Regions from separate parts of the Homo sapiens genome. Here region 2 is linked to region 1. The links are contacts of gene promoters, found by promoter capture Hi-C in blood cells and fetal thymus (Javierre and others, 2016). All regions are on one chromosome and are shown on one strand. The core of a region is centred on a gene start or on the middle of the fragment in contact, and the rest is flanking DNA. Distances in the headings are between cores, read along the strand shown.

Evidence for each region. Contacts are between HindIII fragments. The CHiCAGO score rates a contact against its expected background, and 5 or more counts as called.
Region 2: a contact is called between a fragment that was not itself captured here and the fragment with the promoter of FRS3 in region 1, in 3 of 17 cell types (total CD8 T cells, total CD4 T cells and activated CD4 T cells). The highest score is 8.3, in total CD8 T cells.

Annotation. Positions count from the first base shown.
Region 1 is chr6:41,775,223-41,782,495 of GRCh38, forward strand. It overlaps FRS3 (fibroblast growth factor receptor substrate 3), which reads right to left and starts at 4,678. Exons shown (of 7, transcript NM_006653.5): 1 at 4,594-4,678; 2 at 2,811-2,954; 3 at 1,700-1,788; 4 at 197-383. The coding sequence starts at 1,765. PRICKLE4 (prickle planar cell polarity protein 4) reads left to right here and starts at 5,560. Exons shown (of 8, transcript NM_013397.6): 1 at 5,560-5,604; 2 at 6,128-6,298. RefSeq lists silencers at 4,404-4,553, 4,584-4,993, 5,274-5,343. The HindIII fragment of the contact is 6,259 bases long and covers 3,566-7,273 here.
Region 2 is chr6:42,535,018-42,542,290 of GRCh38, forward strand. No RefSeq gene overlaps it. Among named protein-coding and RNA genes, the nearest start is that of UBR2, 25 kb to the right of the region's middle. The HindIII fragment of the contact is 228 bases long and covers 3,274-3,501 here.

The DNA of each region.
Region 1 (7,273 bases), core at 3,428-5,927:
CTGTGGCTGGCTCTAGCCTTGACCTTATGGAATAACCTACCACCCCTGACCTCTGACTGCAGGGAGAATACATCACACTCTACTGCCCACAGGTGATGGGGATAACACTAACCTCTTGAGGGCTAACCTATACATTAGGAACCCTGGAGTACTGCATAAGCCCCTATCCCAGGGTGGAGCAGGGCCTGGTACTCACCCTGGCCTGTCTGACATCGGCGGCCACTCTCAAAGGAGAAGAGGTTGGAGTCGTAGCCATAGCGCCGCAAGCAGAGATAAGGCCAGCGGACGGCCTCACGCCGATGCAGGTGCAGCACCAGCTCACTCTGCGTCAGCTCCATCACCCCAGAGCCCAGCTCCACCCCCTCATCATCCACATTTGTCACCTGGAGGGGAGAAGACAGAAGGGTCAATGAGTGAGTCCAACAAGTGTTTGCATGGGTCCCTGAGCCACTGGGAGACAATCTGATGCAGGACAAGAGGTGGGGAACCAAAGGTCACATCCGACTATCACAGACTCTACTGAATGCCACATAACTACATGAAGCAGTGCCATGGACCCACGGCAGTTCTCTGGGCAAATCCTACTTCTCTAGTGCTGAGTTTTGTCATATGGACAGTGAGGGAAGAGGTAGGTAGCTGACTTCCAAGGTCGGTTTGTTAGATAACAAATGTTAGACGACCCTAGACAGCCCATGCCTTAGTATCCAAGGGCCAGATGTTAATGGGGAAGGGGTTCAATTGTAAATTCAAAATCTTGAGACTGGGACACCCTGACCTAGGAAAGTCAAGCCCAAGGCAGAACCAATGCACATCTCCTCTACCACCTCCCCAACTGTGTGCCCTTACTGAGGGCTCCCTCTTCTGGTGGGCAGGAGAAACATGTGCTTCAACATGCCCCAGAATGAGGAAGGAGGAGGCTCCCTCTACAGAGAGGTGGGCAGGGGAGAGCACAGGTCGACTTGGGTCTGCCCTCAGCTTCCCACAGCAAACAGCAAACACTGATGTTGTGCTTACTGTGTGCTAAGCACTATTTAATTTATTTATTTATTTATTTTTTGAGATGGCATCTCGCTCTGTCACCCAGGCTGAAGTGCAGCGGTGCAATCTCAGCCCACTGCAACCTCCACCTCCCGGGTTCAAGTGATTCTCCTGCCTCAGCCTCCCAAGTAGCTGGGATTACAGGCGTGTGCCACCATACCTGGCTAATTTTTGTATTTTTAGTAGAGACGGGGTTTCGCCATGTTGGCCAGGCTGGTCTCGAGCTCCTGACCTCAGGTGATCCGCCTGCCTTGGCCTCCAAAAGTGCTGGTATTACAGGTGTGAGCCACCGTGCCTGGCCACTAAGCACTATTTTAAATACTTTACGTATATTAACTCACAAATACAGAATTTTGTTTTCTCTAAAAAAAAAAGGGGGGGGGATATATAAAGTTATAAAAATACACTGACAACAGTTCCAAAAGCACCATTATGGCATTTCTTCATTCTTGGTAGTATCAAGAGCCATGAAAACAGCAGTGGTCTGGGCCTCTTTTCCTCAGGCTACTTGAGAGGGTGTGAGCTCAAGAAGTCTCCATAAGCCCACAACCTCAGCCTGGCATTTGATTTGCTGTTAGAGAAGCTGAGGCAACTCCATTAAATTGTGTCTGAGCCCAAGAGGCCATGTTGGGAACACAGGAGAGGAGAGGGCTCTGGGTACCTTGAACTTGGTGGGGTGGTTGTCTGGAACGCTGTCTCTGTTCAGGCAGCTGCAGCAGCTCCCCATGGTGTCAGAGCAGCCAGCCTGCCCTAGGAAAAACATACAGGATATGCAGGTCACCAACTTCAGCTTCAAAAAACCCTGCTCTGGGGAACTTGGGCAGAAGCACGTCATTGTGATCACCTACTCTGTCCAAGAGACTGTGTGATACAGACCCCCCCTCAAAGACTTCACATTCTCAATCCAGGGCCAGACACACATTGGATAAACGTTAATTCAAGTTACAATGTGTTAAGGATGAATGCCGATGGGGGGCTGGAGAGAGCTTCTCAGAGGTAACATTTGATCTGGACCTTGAGAAGTATGTAGGATTCTGACCCATGTAATGACAAGGAAGGCAGGGACACAGGCAGGAAGAAAAGTAGGGGTCCAGGAGAAGTGATCTGCAGCAGATGGAGGTGGGTGCCAGCCCGAGCCCCTTATTTGGATTCAGCAAAGAAATTGTCACTTGGGGGTCTCAGACACTTTGGCCTGTGCCTGTCTCTTTTTTCCTCCCTTTTTACCTCATCCATTCCACTTCATCCAAGTTCTCTCTTCTCCCTTACTACCATCCCAACATCCAGTGCAAATTTATCTTTCTGATGTCCTCTTCAAATGAGTTGTTACATTGTGATCATAAAGATATATTCAGAAGACTGAACATTTAAAACAGTGCAGTTTTAATAACCTCAAGTGGATATTTCTTCATTTAAAAAAAATGCTGGGTTTCCTTCCCTTTTTCTGAAGGGGAGACCAGAGGCCTTACTATTTGGCTCTTCCCCTCCAGGATTCCAGTACTTGGATTATATGTCACAATAGTCAGGACTGTGCCTAGAATGAAGAGGACACCACCCAAGCTTGAATGACCTAAGGGAACAAGAAATGCATGGACCAATACCAAGCAGAAGTTTTAAGGGGTTGCAACTTGTCACAAGAAATAAGTCTGTAGGATTGGCTATCCTTCTAGAACTCCTGCTGAATGGTAAAGCTTTGAACAACCAGGTGACCTGTACCCTCTGTTCCTCCCAACTTGGGAAACGCCATAAAACTGACCCCTATACACAGCTCTTACCTCACCCAGGCCATCGGGGAGCTGACCGTGGGAGGGGCATGGGGAAGGGTTCCCACTTTATTCCCCCCGTCCTTGGTGGGCTGTCATGGCAAACAGTCTGCAGAGAAGTCACCCGGATCCCTCTGGGATACACCTGGGGCTCACCTAGCATAGGAAACAGAGACACTGATTAACAAAACCTTCTATCTTCACCCCCAACTGTTAATGAAAACTGACCTAACAGTCCATCCCACCTGGGTATCTGTTCCAGCCCTAATGGGACAAAAACACCAATGAAGAAAGTAAAATCAAGGGCAAAGGGAGCACAAATCCCAAGCCCCACGGGCCCTGAGAGGGACAGACACCAAGAACATCAATAAGTTTGAAGTCTAAGACGACCAAAGACCTTTTAAGTCACTTTAGATCTCCCTCTGAGTCCTGTTACAACAAACACCAAAACCATCACCTTACCTTTGCAGAGAACTTTAACTCTACAAAGAGCTTTCTCAAAAGGACACTGTGATATAGTAGAGACAGCACTGGTTTAAGACTCAGGAAACCAATATATCGGTCAGTTTTGTTGCTACTAAGTATCTGGGAGACTTAAGTCAACGCCCCCCCCAACTCCCACCTAAGGCCTTAGTTTTTGGGGGAACCATCTATAAACTGGGGAGCTTCTAGCTTAAATAACTTGCAGAGGTAAAAACGTAAGACAAACTTCACTAAAATTGACATGTTCATCTTCCAAGACAGGCTGCTTCAATTTCGCATTTGGAAGCTTGATAGATTTTCTGCTCCCCAAGCTCTGAAAGGCCTAATTTTAACATAAATGTTAACAGTAAGCCAAAATTTCAGGATATCTGAGCCCAAGGTAGACAAGTCAACAAGCCAGGACTCTGCAGACCCTGGACATCCCACATTCCTGCTCTGGAGAAACACTTCCCAGGGCCCCTTGCACCCTGCATCCTTGGACAACTTCCAGGTAAAAGGACCCCATCCCCTTGGTCTGGCTTATTTTCTGGAAGGAAGAAGCAGGCTCAGGGAGGTGTGCACAGACTAAAGATAGGTTGCTGGGAAAATACTGGGGCTTGAGCCACCGACGGGGGCACGGCGCGGGCACTGAAACGAAGAACTCTAGGGTGCAAGATGGGGGAGGGGCTGAATTTCCCTATCACCATCTCTTCTCCTTAAGATATCAGGATGTATCAGATAGCCCACTGAGGAGGGACTGCATTGAGTGGAAATGGGGAGAGGCCTCTGGTCTGGGATAGGTATGGATCAGGGGCAGGAGTGAGAGGGGGGTGTGGGGGCTGAAAACGTATGAGGACGTTTGGGGAAACATGAGCAAGAATTTTGGATGTGGGCATTTTGGATAGTGCAAGGAGAATGGGGATATGAGGGATCCTAGGAATTTCCGGGCAGTGGAAGCATTTGGGGGCATCCAAGAGAAATGGTGGGTCCGTGGGCATAGCAGGAGATTTGTTGAGTGAATGAGGGGGTTCTGAGGGCTCCAGGAGATGCGATGATGTGTCCAGGGCGGAGAGGGTAGAGGTGGGTTGGGGGAGCCAGAGGCTGCAGGACAGGCTACAGGACTGTCAAGGGGAATTTCTACATGCCCGTAAGGAATGAGGAGGTCTGGGTGCGCGCTGTCCCCGGATCCCCGCCCCCAGCCCCGGTGCTCCGCCGCCTGCCCGCCCGCCCGGGGCTTCCTAGGGAGGGAGTGGAGACTGCGGCGCGGCGCGGCGCGGCGCGGCGCGGCCTCGGTGAAGCCGCCTCGTCCCCGCCCCGCCGCGCCCCGACTCACATCGCCCCGCGGCCCGGGCGGCGCCGGGCCCCGCTCCCGGGTCCCGCTGCAGCAGCCGCCGCCCGCCCGGAGCTAAGGCCTCCCCGCCCCGCCCCGCCCCGCGGCCGCGGGGTCGGAGGTCACCGGCAGCACCAACGAGACGCTGCGGGCTGGCGGACCCGAGCGGGGGCGACCGGCACGCAGCCTAGAAGGTCCCTTTGGAGGACTTTGCAGTCGGGAGCAGTGAGCATGCGCAGACGCCAGAGGGCGCTCCTGGCCAGGGGCTGAGCAAGCCCGGAGGGGACAGGGCGGAGCCTGCGGCGGAGGCGGGGCGCGGAGGCGGGGCTGAGGACACCAAAGTTGGGGGTGGTCCGGGGAGCGGAAAGGGGACGGAGGGTTGGGCGAGAAACGAAGGGAAGGGGAGAGGGTCTGAAGGGACCTGAAAGGAGAAGGGCAAGACGATGGAACCTGGAAGAGGGTTGAGGGGAGGGGAAGGGGCCAGGGGGACCACTGGGGACAAGGGGGAGAGAACTGAAGGGAAACACGCGGAGGAGCGGGGCTGGGAGACCACAGGGAGAGTTTGGGGAGACCTGGGAACTGCGGAGAGACAGGGCTGCGGGCCCGGCGAGGCGTTTCCATTCAGCGAATGGTTGAAAACCCAGCGTAAACGCGGCTCCCGGCGTCTGCTGGATGCCTGCCGGGCGCAGTCCGAGCCAGAGAGCCCTTGCACCTGCATGGCAGAGGCCATGGAGCCCGCACATTTCCACCCTGAGATCCCATAAATGTGGTTTTGTTTTCCTTTTTTTTTTCCTCCCCCCAATCTGCAGCTCCAGGCCCCTCCCTGAGCCGCCCCTCTCCACCAGCCGGGGAGGGGCGGGCGGGGGCCGCTGGGGCGTGGGAGAGGAAGGGCCGCGCTATTAGGGCGGGCGGGGGCGGACGGGGGCGGGCGCTGAAGCCTTGGGGTGGGGACCGGGTGAGGGGCCTGACGGCAGAGTCGGTCCAGAACTGCCCGGACAGCGACGCACAGCGAGGGTGAGACCCCAGCGGAGTCCTGGTCCCCTCCCCTAAAATCCCAGCAGCCAGACCGGGAACCCCAGCGGACTCGGGAAACACCGCGTCCCAGCCCCGGAGGCGGGCCCGCCAAGTTCCAGAAAAACTCTGGGGATCTATCGAGAGGGCAGTTGGCGGGACTGGGCACTCCCCTTCCTTCTCCCTCCCACTGTCCCCAGAAATCTTCCCATCCCTCCACCTCCCCAAGCCCTAAGTCCTCTCGGGCTCTGCCCTTCAGGGCAGCGGGTGTTGGGGATGTCCAGCTCCTGAGCCCTCTTGCACGGAGGCTCTGCACGGAGGCAAGACAAGGGGTTCAGCTCTGTCCCTTATCTGAGGTGGGAGGGGGAAGGGAATTATGGAAGGAATCCAGCTGGCCTGTTAGTAAGGGTGTTCCAGTGCTAGGTGGAGGTGGAGTTTGGCTGCCTTTGGGGAGATTGGAAGGGTGAGGAATAGAGGCCTGATTTCTGAGTGTTGTTTCTGTGTTGGACAATTCTATGCAAACTAGAGCCAAAATGGAAGAGGGTGCAAGTCCCCTCCTGGGGCCCCAGACGCCCCCTCCTTTCTTGCTGCCTGGAGCAGGGGCAGTGCTGTTAGTGGCTACTCCTGGTGTGAACAGCCCATCCTGGCCACCTTCCACAGGAAACCTGACCTGAAGGACAGAAGAGGAAGGAAGCAGGTGGGTGTGAAGCCAGGAAGGAGGGAAGGGTGGCACAGGACATTTGAAGTGGGAGTGGAGGGGCGGTGCTGAGGAGGGTTCAGTGCTGGGAAGCAATATTAACTGTTACAGTCCAAACCCTCACCTCAACCCCAGTACGAATCCCTGGCCCAGTCTTAGAGGCCAGGGATTTGATGATGACCCTCCTGTGCCCAGCTACTTTCAGAATCTATCCCAGCTCTCAGAAGCCAGGTCCCCCTAAGGCTTCCCTTAGCCTCTGGTATGATCTTGGGCAAGTTAATTAACTTGTTTCAACTGTCAAGTGGAATGAAAGAGATTACCTCATAAGATTATTGTGAGGATGGACTATATTATGTAATATTCTAGAAGAGTCCTTGGCACAGAGTAAATATTATTAAAAAGTTTGCTCTGGTTATTTTTTTCTCCAGGGTTTTTGTATGTCTGTCCCGAGCTCTGATTGATCCCATTCTACCTGGTTTCATCTTTGTCTTACCCACTATGAGCTCCTTGAGGGCGGGGCTCATCTCTTCTCTACATTAATAGTCGCTTTTTTTTTTTTTTTTTTGAGACGGAGTCTCACTCTGTTGCCCAGGCTGGAGTGCAGTGGCATGATCTCAGCTCACTGCCACCTCTGCCTTCCAGGTAGGTTGGAGCGATTCTCCTGCCTCAGCCTCTGGAGTAGCTGGGATTACAGGCACACATTACCACGCCCAGCTTATTTTTGTATTTGTAGTAGAGATGGGGTTTCCCCATGTTGGCCAGGATGGTCTCGAACCACTGACCTCAGGTGATCTGCCTGCCTCAGCCTCCCAAAGTGCTGGGATTACAGGCATAAGCCACTGTGCCCAGCCAATGGTCACTTCTTCTTTTTTTTTTTTTTTTTTTTTGAGACGGAGTCTTGCTCTGTCGCCCAGGCTGGAGTGCAGTGGCGCGATCTTGGCTCACTGCAAGCTCCACCTCCCGGGTTCACACCAT
Region 2 (7,273 bases), core at 2,138-4,637, 760 kb after region 1:
ATACTTTTACTATTCCAGGCCCTTAGGTATACATAGATGTACATACTTTTTTCCCCTAAAAATTAGATCCAATCATAGTCCTGTTTTACAACGTGCTTTTTTAATTCAATGATCCATCATGACCTTCTTTGCATGTTAAACAAAATGGACTTCTGCAAAACCAATTTGATTGGCTACACGAGATTCTATTTTAAAGACATACTGTAAGTTACTTAGTGCAGTGATGTGGAGATGGGGTTTGCAGCTGGTATAGAGTCTGGGAATTTCAGCACCCCCCTCCATTCTGGTTGCAGAGGTCAAGTATGGGGGTCCCCGAGTAATTCTGATACACTATCCTTCTTTCCTCTTCTCAGACCTTGAGAACCACTGATCTATTAAGTTCCCATTTGGGGGAACTTAGATTTCCAAACATTTGGCATTACAAACATAGCAAAAAGAATTATTTTTTTGGAAAAAAAAAAGAGAAAAAAAAATCAGCCACACCAATCCTGTGAGGTAGGTGTTATCACTGTAATCATTTTACAGATAAGTGTCTCCTAGAAATCTGTATTTTTAAAAATTTACCCATGAGGTTCTGCCAATCATCTAGATAGGGAATCACTGAAATTCTTATAGGAAGATCATGGTGTTTCCTGGATAAAGCCAAGCTCAGAGTGCTGGGTACACAAACAGTCCCTGTGCTGAGGAGCAAGTTCAGAGCCACGTGTCTTCTTCTTTCTTTCTTTCTTTTTTTTTTTGAAACAGTGTTTCACTCTTGTCGCCCAGGTTGGAATGCAGTGGTGCAATCTTGGCTCACTGCAACCTCCGCCTCCTGGGTTCATGCGATTCTTCTGCCTCAGCCTCCCAAGTAGCTGGGACTACAGTAACTGGGAGCACAAGCCACCAGGCCTGGCAAATTTTTCTTATTTTTAGTAGAGACAGGGTTTCACCATGTTGGCCAGGCTGGTCTTGAACTCCCGACCTCAGGTGATCTGCCCACCTTGGCCTCCCAAAGTGCTGGGATTACAGGTGTGAGCCACCACACCCAGCCCAGAGCCATGGGTCTTCTGTGTCCACTGGCGAATGGATCAGGGGTGGAAAACCAATGCAGGGTCAGCCAATGAGTGGCCCAGCCAGCAGCAGCCCGTGAGGGGCTCCACTGTAAAAACTCCTGTCCACCAAAGAAGAGGCAGTGCCATGAGGTCATAGAAGCCATTGAGAACCAGAACTCTTGATAAGTAGAAGCTTGTAGAGAACAGAAGCCATGAGGCAAAGAAAAGAAGGGTTAGAGGTGAGCTGGTAGTGGCAAAAGTGTGAGAATCAGAGGCAGAAGGAGGCTGTGTCACAGTCATGTCAAAAGGTAGACAATCTCCTGCTGAGAGGGGGACACGTTACTGTCCCCAGAGCTCTGTATCCTGGGCCCCACTTCTGGTTCCCCAGCCATGCTGTAGCTGCAATGAGGCCCAGCTGGGCAGCCACTCTGGTGCCGGCAGTGCCCTGATTCCCCCAATTACCATGTGGGTTCTTCACAATAATTATGTAACCTACCCTCCCACTGGAGGAAGAGAATTATTTGAGATAAACCAAAGAAAGCCATTTACTACAAGCAAGAGAGCTTAGCACATACTTTAAGTAATTAGATTCATTTATTAAACTTTTGAATAAAGGATTTAAAATGTGATTGCAATGGGAAGAAGTGTGGAAGAGGATGGGAAAACACAGGGTAACTGAAGGAAGTGAAGACTAGGGGGTCCCTGGGGTAGGAAGAGAGAGGAAAGACATTGCAAAGAGGGCAAAATGAGGGAGAAGGAGGGGGCAAACTTCTTTATCCACAACCAGTCCAGGCTATTCCAGTCAGAGAGAGAACCCAACTGGAGGCTAGTGTCAGAGGGCAGGAGCAGCTGAGCAGCACAGGGTTGTCCAGGAGAAGATGTTGAGAGGTGGTGTGATACTCAGAGCACGTTCGATGGTGCAGGGAGCAGGTGAGTCCCCCGAGGGGGCCTTGCTCTGTTGATGACTAATCAGAAGTAACAAGATTTTCTGACTTGGAGTTCACTCTCCACTCACAACCAGAATAAAGACCCTGGTCTACTTTCAGAGGACAGAGCTTGCACATCCAAGAAGTTCCTACCACTTCCCCTAAGACAAAAGATGTGGAAGTGAGAACAGGAGACTAAGGGATCAGCATCTTCCTGCTAACCATGGGGTGGATCGGTTTAGGCAAGTCCCCAGCTGCTATCGAACTCCCAGACAGGCCTGACCCTTAACAGCCTCTCTCCATGAGCAGGAGCTTTATTCACTTATTTAGTGACAGAAGCATCAGTCCCAGAAGACATATAGAATAATAGTAACACCAACAATAACAATCACTTATAGGTCCTCACTTATGGGCCTGACATCCTGTCAGGAGCCTTTTACCCAATATCTCACTTCATCTTCACATCAGCCTTCTGAGTGAGGTAAGTTCGATGACTGTCCTCATTTTCCAGATAAGCTGAGGCTCAGGGAGGTTCATTAATTTGATGGAGCTAATTAGAGCAGAAATGGGATCCACACTAGATCTGTCTAATCCAGAGTCTATGCTCTTGGTCACTTGAGCTATACTGACTCCCTCATCAATTATGACAGTTAAAAGGGAATATGGAAGTGGTCTAAGCTCCAAGCCCATCTAAAATATGAAGGCATCTTCGAAACCTCCCCATTTCACTGTACACTTGGAGAATTGTAAGAGTCATCCCATTTGGCCACTGTCTGATGGTGAAATCAAGCCTTGGGCAGCAGCAACTTCCACTTGCAGACATAATCAGAAGTCTCTCATTTATAATACACTGAACTTTTTCTAGAACCTTCCACCTCAGTGTTTCCCCAGGTAGTAGATAAACTGTGAAAAGCCAGGTCTTGAGTTAGCCAAATCAAGCTGATGCAATGAATCAAACACCATCTTCATCAAAGAAAAGGGATCAGCAAATCACTAAACCAACACAGCACTTTGCTGTTTGTCAGCAAGCAGCAACCCCAGACCTTGTTCCAGTGGCCCAGAGACAGCCTTACCTATCTCCTCTGGGAAATCTTCTACAGGACTCTTGAGGAGACTACAGAATCGTGAGGCCAAGTCTGAGAGCTTTGGAGAAAGGAGTAGCAGAAATTCCTTTTACTTCGTCCTTTTTTTATCAGGCTTGTCTTGTTGTTGGCTGAAGAAAAACAGTCTGTTGAACTACATTCTTGTCCAAACAACACAATTAACTTCCTCCTCTTCCTTTTCCTTTCCCTTCTCCTCCTTTTCCGGCTGCCTGAAGCTTCGAGAAAGTAAATTTTGTGTCTTTCATTTAATATTACCTCTGTAGTTGCTGAGACCACAGCTTGCGGAGCTGACTTACAAGTAGGCATCACCCTATAAACTATTATTTGATTTGAAGGAGGGTAGAGGGTCAGTCTGTTCAGGTACTGGACACTAATTTTTTAAATTACTCACCAGATAGTTCCAATGCTGTTAAACTGTTCCAAAGTATAAGAGAGAAAGCAAGCTTTTAGATTATTTTTTTACAAAAGCAATATGACACTGATACTAAAACCTAAAAAATACAGCATTGAATAGAAAAAATGCAGGCAAATTTCTCTCATGAATATGGATTTTAAAAATCTGTAGGGGAGGCCAGGCGCAGTGGCTCACACCTGTAATCCCAGCACTTTGGGAGGCCAAGGTGGGTGGACCACCTGAGGTCGGGAGTTCCTCCTGGCCAATATGGTGAAACCCCGCCTCTACTAAAAATACAAAAATTAGCTGGGCGTGGTGGCAGGCACCTGTAACCCCAGCTACTCGGGAGGCTGAGGCAGGAGAATTGTTTGAACCTGGGAGGTAGAGGTTGCAGTGAGCCGAGATCGTGCCACTGCACTCCAGCCTGGACAACAGATCAAGACTCCATCTCAAAAAAAAAAAAAATCTGTAGGGGACCAAAAGGTATTTGGAAAAATTATACATTCATTTCTGACACAAACCTTTTAATAAAAAAGAGAGATATTTCCTTAACACAATAAATAAATGTATGCAATCAGATCCAAACCAGCAGCATGCTTAATGGTGAAATACTAAAAGAATCCCAGCAAATCCAGGAAAAAGACAAGGATGCCCGTATCACTACTACTATTTCACATTGTAGTGAAGGTATAAGCCAATAGTATTTTAGAAGGAAAATAAATATTAAAATAAATATTAAGGTATAAAAGTTAGTAAGGGAAGGAAAATTTTCATTATTTGCAGTTGTTATAGTACTGTGTACTTTGAAAACTTAAGAGTAAGCAAATGCACTTCAGTATCTAATTGCAAAATAAATATACAAATGAATAGCTATGCTATAAGTAAATGACTCAGACCTAAGAAAACAGAATCCTAAGGTGGCAGTGGAGAAAGATAGAAATCAAATCAATTTACACGACAGAATCTCCCAAAAGGCTCAGGAATGGATGGAACCATTTATCTTTGGAAATGAAAGAGAGATAAAACAGAGAACTGATGGAAATACCACTTAAGAAGCAATTAGAGGCCTGGCATAGTGGCTCACACCTGTAATCGCAGCACTCTGGGAGGCTGAGGTGGAAGGATCACTTGAGGCCAGTAATTCAAGACCAGCCTGGGCAACATAGTGGGAACTTGTCTCTACCAAAAATAAATAAATAAATAAAAATAGCGCACACCTGTAGTCCTAGCTACTCAGGAGGTGGAGGTAGAAGAATTGCTTGAGCCCAGGAGTTCAAGGTTACAGTGGGTTATGATTGTGACACTGCACTCCAGCCTGGGCGATAGAGCACAACTCTCTCTCTCTAGTTAATAAATAAATAAATAAAAGCAATTAGAGCCTTAGATGCCCCCCCAACTCCCTGTCTCCCCACAGCAACAGATTGGTGGTTTATTGCCTAAAAAGGGTAAACTGGGGGTGAGGGTGAGGTAGATGTCTGGTCTGGAGGACACTAGGCACACTTGACACTACACAGAAAACAGGATGCCGGGTGCAGTGGCTCATGCCTGTAATCCCAGCACTTTGGGAGGCCAGGGCAGGCAGATCACAAGGTCAGGAGTTCAAGACCAGCCTGACCAACATGGTGAAACTCCATGTCTACTAAAAATACAAAAAACTAGCCGGGCGTGGTGGTGCACACCTATAATCCCAGCTACTTAGGAGGCTGAGGCAGGAGAATCACTTGAACCCGGGAGGCAGAGGTTGCAGTGAGCTGAGATCGCACCACTGCACTCCAGCCTGGGCGATAAAGCGAGACTCCATTTCAAAAAAGGAAGGAGGGAAGGAAGGAAGGAAGGAGAAAGAGAGAAAGAGAGAGAAAGGAAGGAAGGAAGGAAGGAAGGAAGGAAGGAAGGAAGGAAGGAAAGAAAGAAAGAAAGAAAGGAAGGAAGGAAGGAAAGAAAGAGAAAGAAAGAAGGAAAGAAAGAAGAAAGAAAGAAAGAAAGAAAGAAAGAAAGAAAGAAAGAAAGAAAGAAAGAAAGAAAGAAAGAAAGAAAGGGAGAGAAAACAGGATTAGGTGTAAGCACTAGAGGCAGAAACTCTTGCCTTCTTCCGCCTCTGCTCCTATAACATTGGCAGCCTGGCTTGCACCCTTCCAGACAGAGATGGGAAAGGACACATCTGGGGAATCTGATCAGCTGACAAGTAAAGACATAAACGTATAGACCTCAAGCATTCCTCCAATGAAACCATCCAGCCAGAACACCCTATAAATCCTTCCTTGCATTGTCAAAGTTTCCAATCAGCTTAAATAGGAGCAAACTACCAAGGATCACCTGAGGCATCTGAGGAAAACTTCTAACATGGATCACTAGAAACTAAAATGTACAAATAGAAAAAAGAAACTTGGAGAAAATGAATTATGCAATTACACAAGGAGAAGAAAACTAAAACAAAACAAATCTTATCATTAATATGAATATTAGGATTCTCCAGAGAAACAGGAACAATAAGGTAAATGGATGGATGGATGGATAGATAGATAGACAGATAGATATTTATCTGGTTGATCCTGCTAGTAGCAATAAATAAATAAATAAATAATAGATGTAGATATATAAAGGGGAGATTATTATAAGGAATTGGCTCACACGAATATGGAGGCTAAGAAGTCCACAAATCTGCAGTCTAAAAGCCTGAGAACCAGTAGGCTGATGATGTAAGTTCCAGTCCATGTCCAAAGACAGAAGCCCAATGTCCCAGGTCAAACACCATAAGGTAGAGAAAGCAAATTCCCTCTTGCTCAGCCTTTTTGTTCTATTCAAATTGAATACCACAGATTGAATCAGGCTTGCTCACGTTGGTGAAGGCAATTTGTTTTACTCAGTCTACTGATTCAAATGTTAATCTCATCCAGAAACCCCCTTGTCACCCTGCCTGCAGATAACCCAGAATAATGTTTAACCAAATATCTGGGTACCCTATGGGCCCAGTCAAGTTGACACATCAAATTAACTATCACAATATCCTTAGAAAAGTTAAAAGCAATTGTAATATCATATCCATAAACTAAGTATAGAGTGCTACAAAGAAAAAAATATTCACAGGGAAAAGAATGAGAGAGGGCCGTTGCAAATTAATGACATGATAGCAGAGATTATTTTTAATATACAGAAAGTTTGGAAGATGATGTTGAGGAAATCTCTAAGTATGTAGAGTTCAAACACAAAGAGGTAGAAAATAGGAATGAAAAGATAAGAAAATTAGAAGGCTAGTTCAGGTGGAACATGACCCAAATAGTAGGAGTCCCAGAAAGAATAAACAGTGAACATGAAAGAAAGGAAACCGTTAAAGAAATAGTTCAAGGGAATTGCCCAGAAATGTATAGTATGAGTTTCCAAATTAAAAGTGTCCAGCACAAAGAATTAAAATAGACCTATACTAAGGTACATCATGCAGATTTCACAATGGGGACGAAGAAAAATATCTTCCACATTTCTGGAGAGAAAGCCAAAGGACCCATATAAAAGATCAGGGACAAAAATGGCTTCTGACTTCTCAACAGGAAGCTGGAAAGCAAAAAAGCAATGCCTTCAAAATTCTAGAGTAAAATGATTTTCAATCTAGAGAAACCATGTCCAGCCATTTTTCAAGTATGAGAGCAAAATAAAAATATTTTAGATGTGAGAAAATTTACCCCCCATGCACCCTTCCTTATGAAGCTATTGAAGGGTATGTTTTATCCAAACATGACAGTAAAGAAAACAAAACAAGGAAGACAGAATGTCCAGGAAACTGGAGCTCTATCACAGGCTAAGGGAATCCCAGGAGACCATGACAGA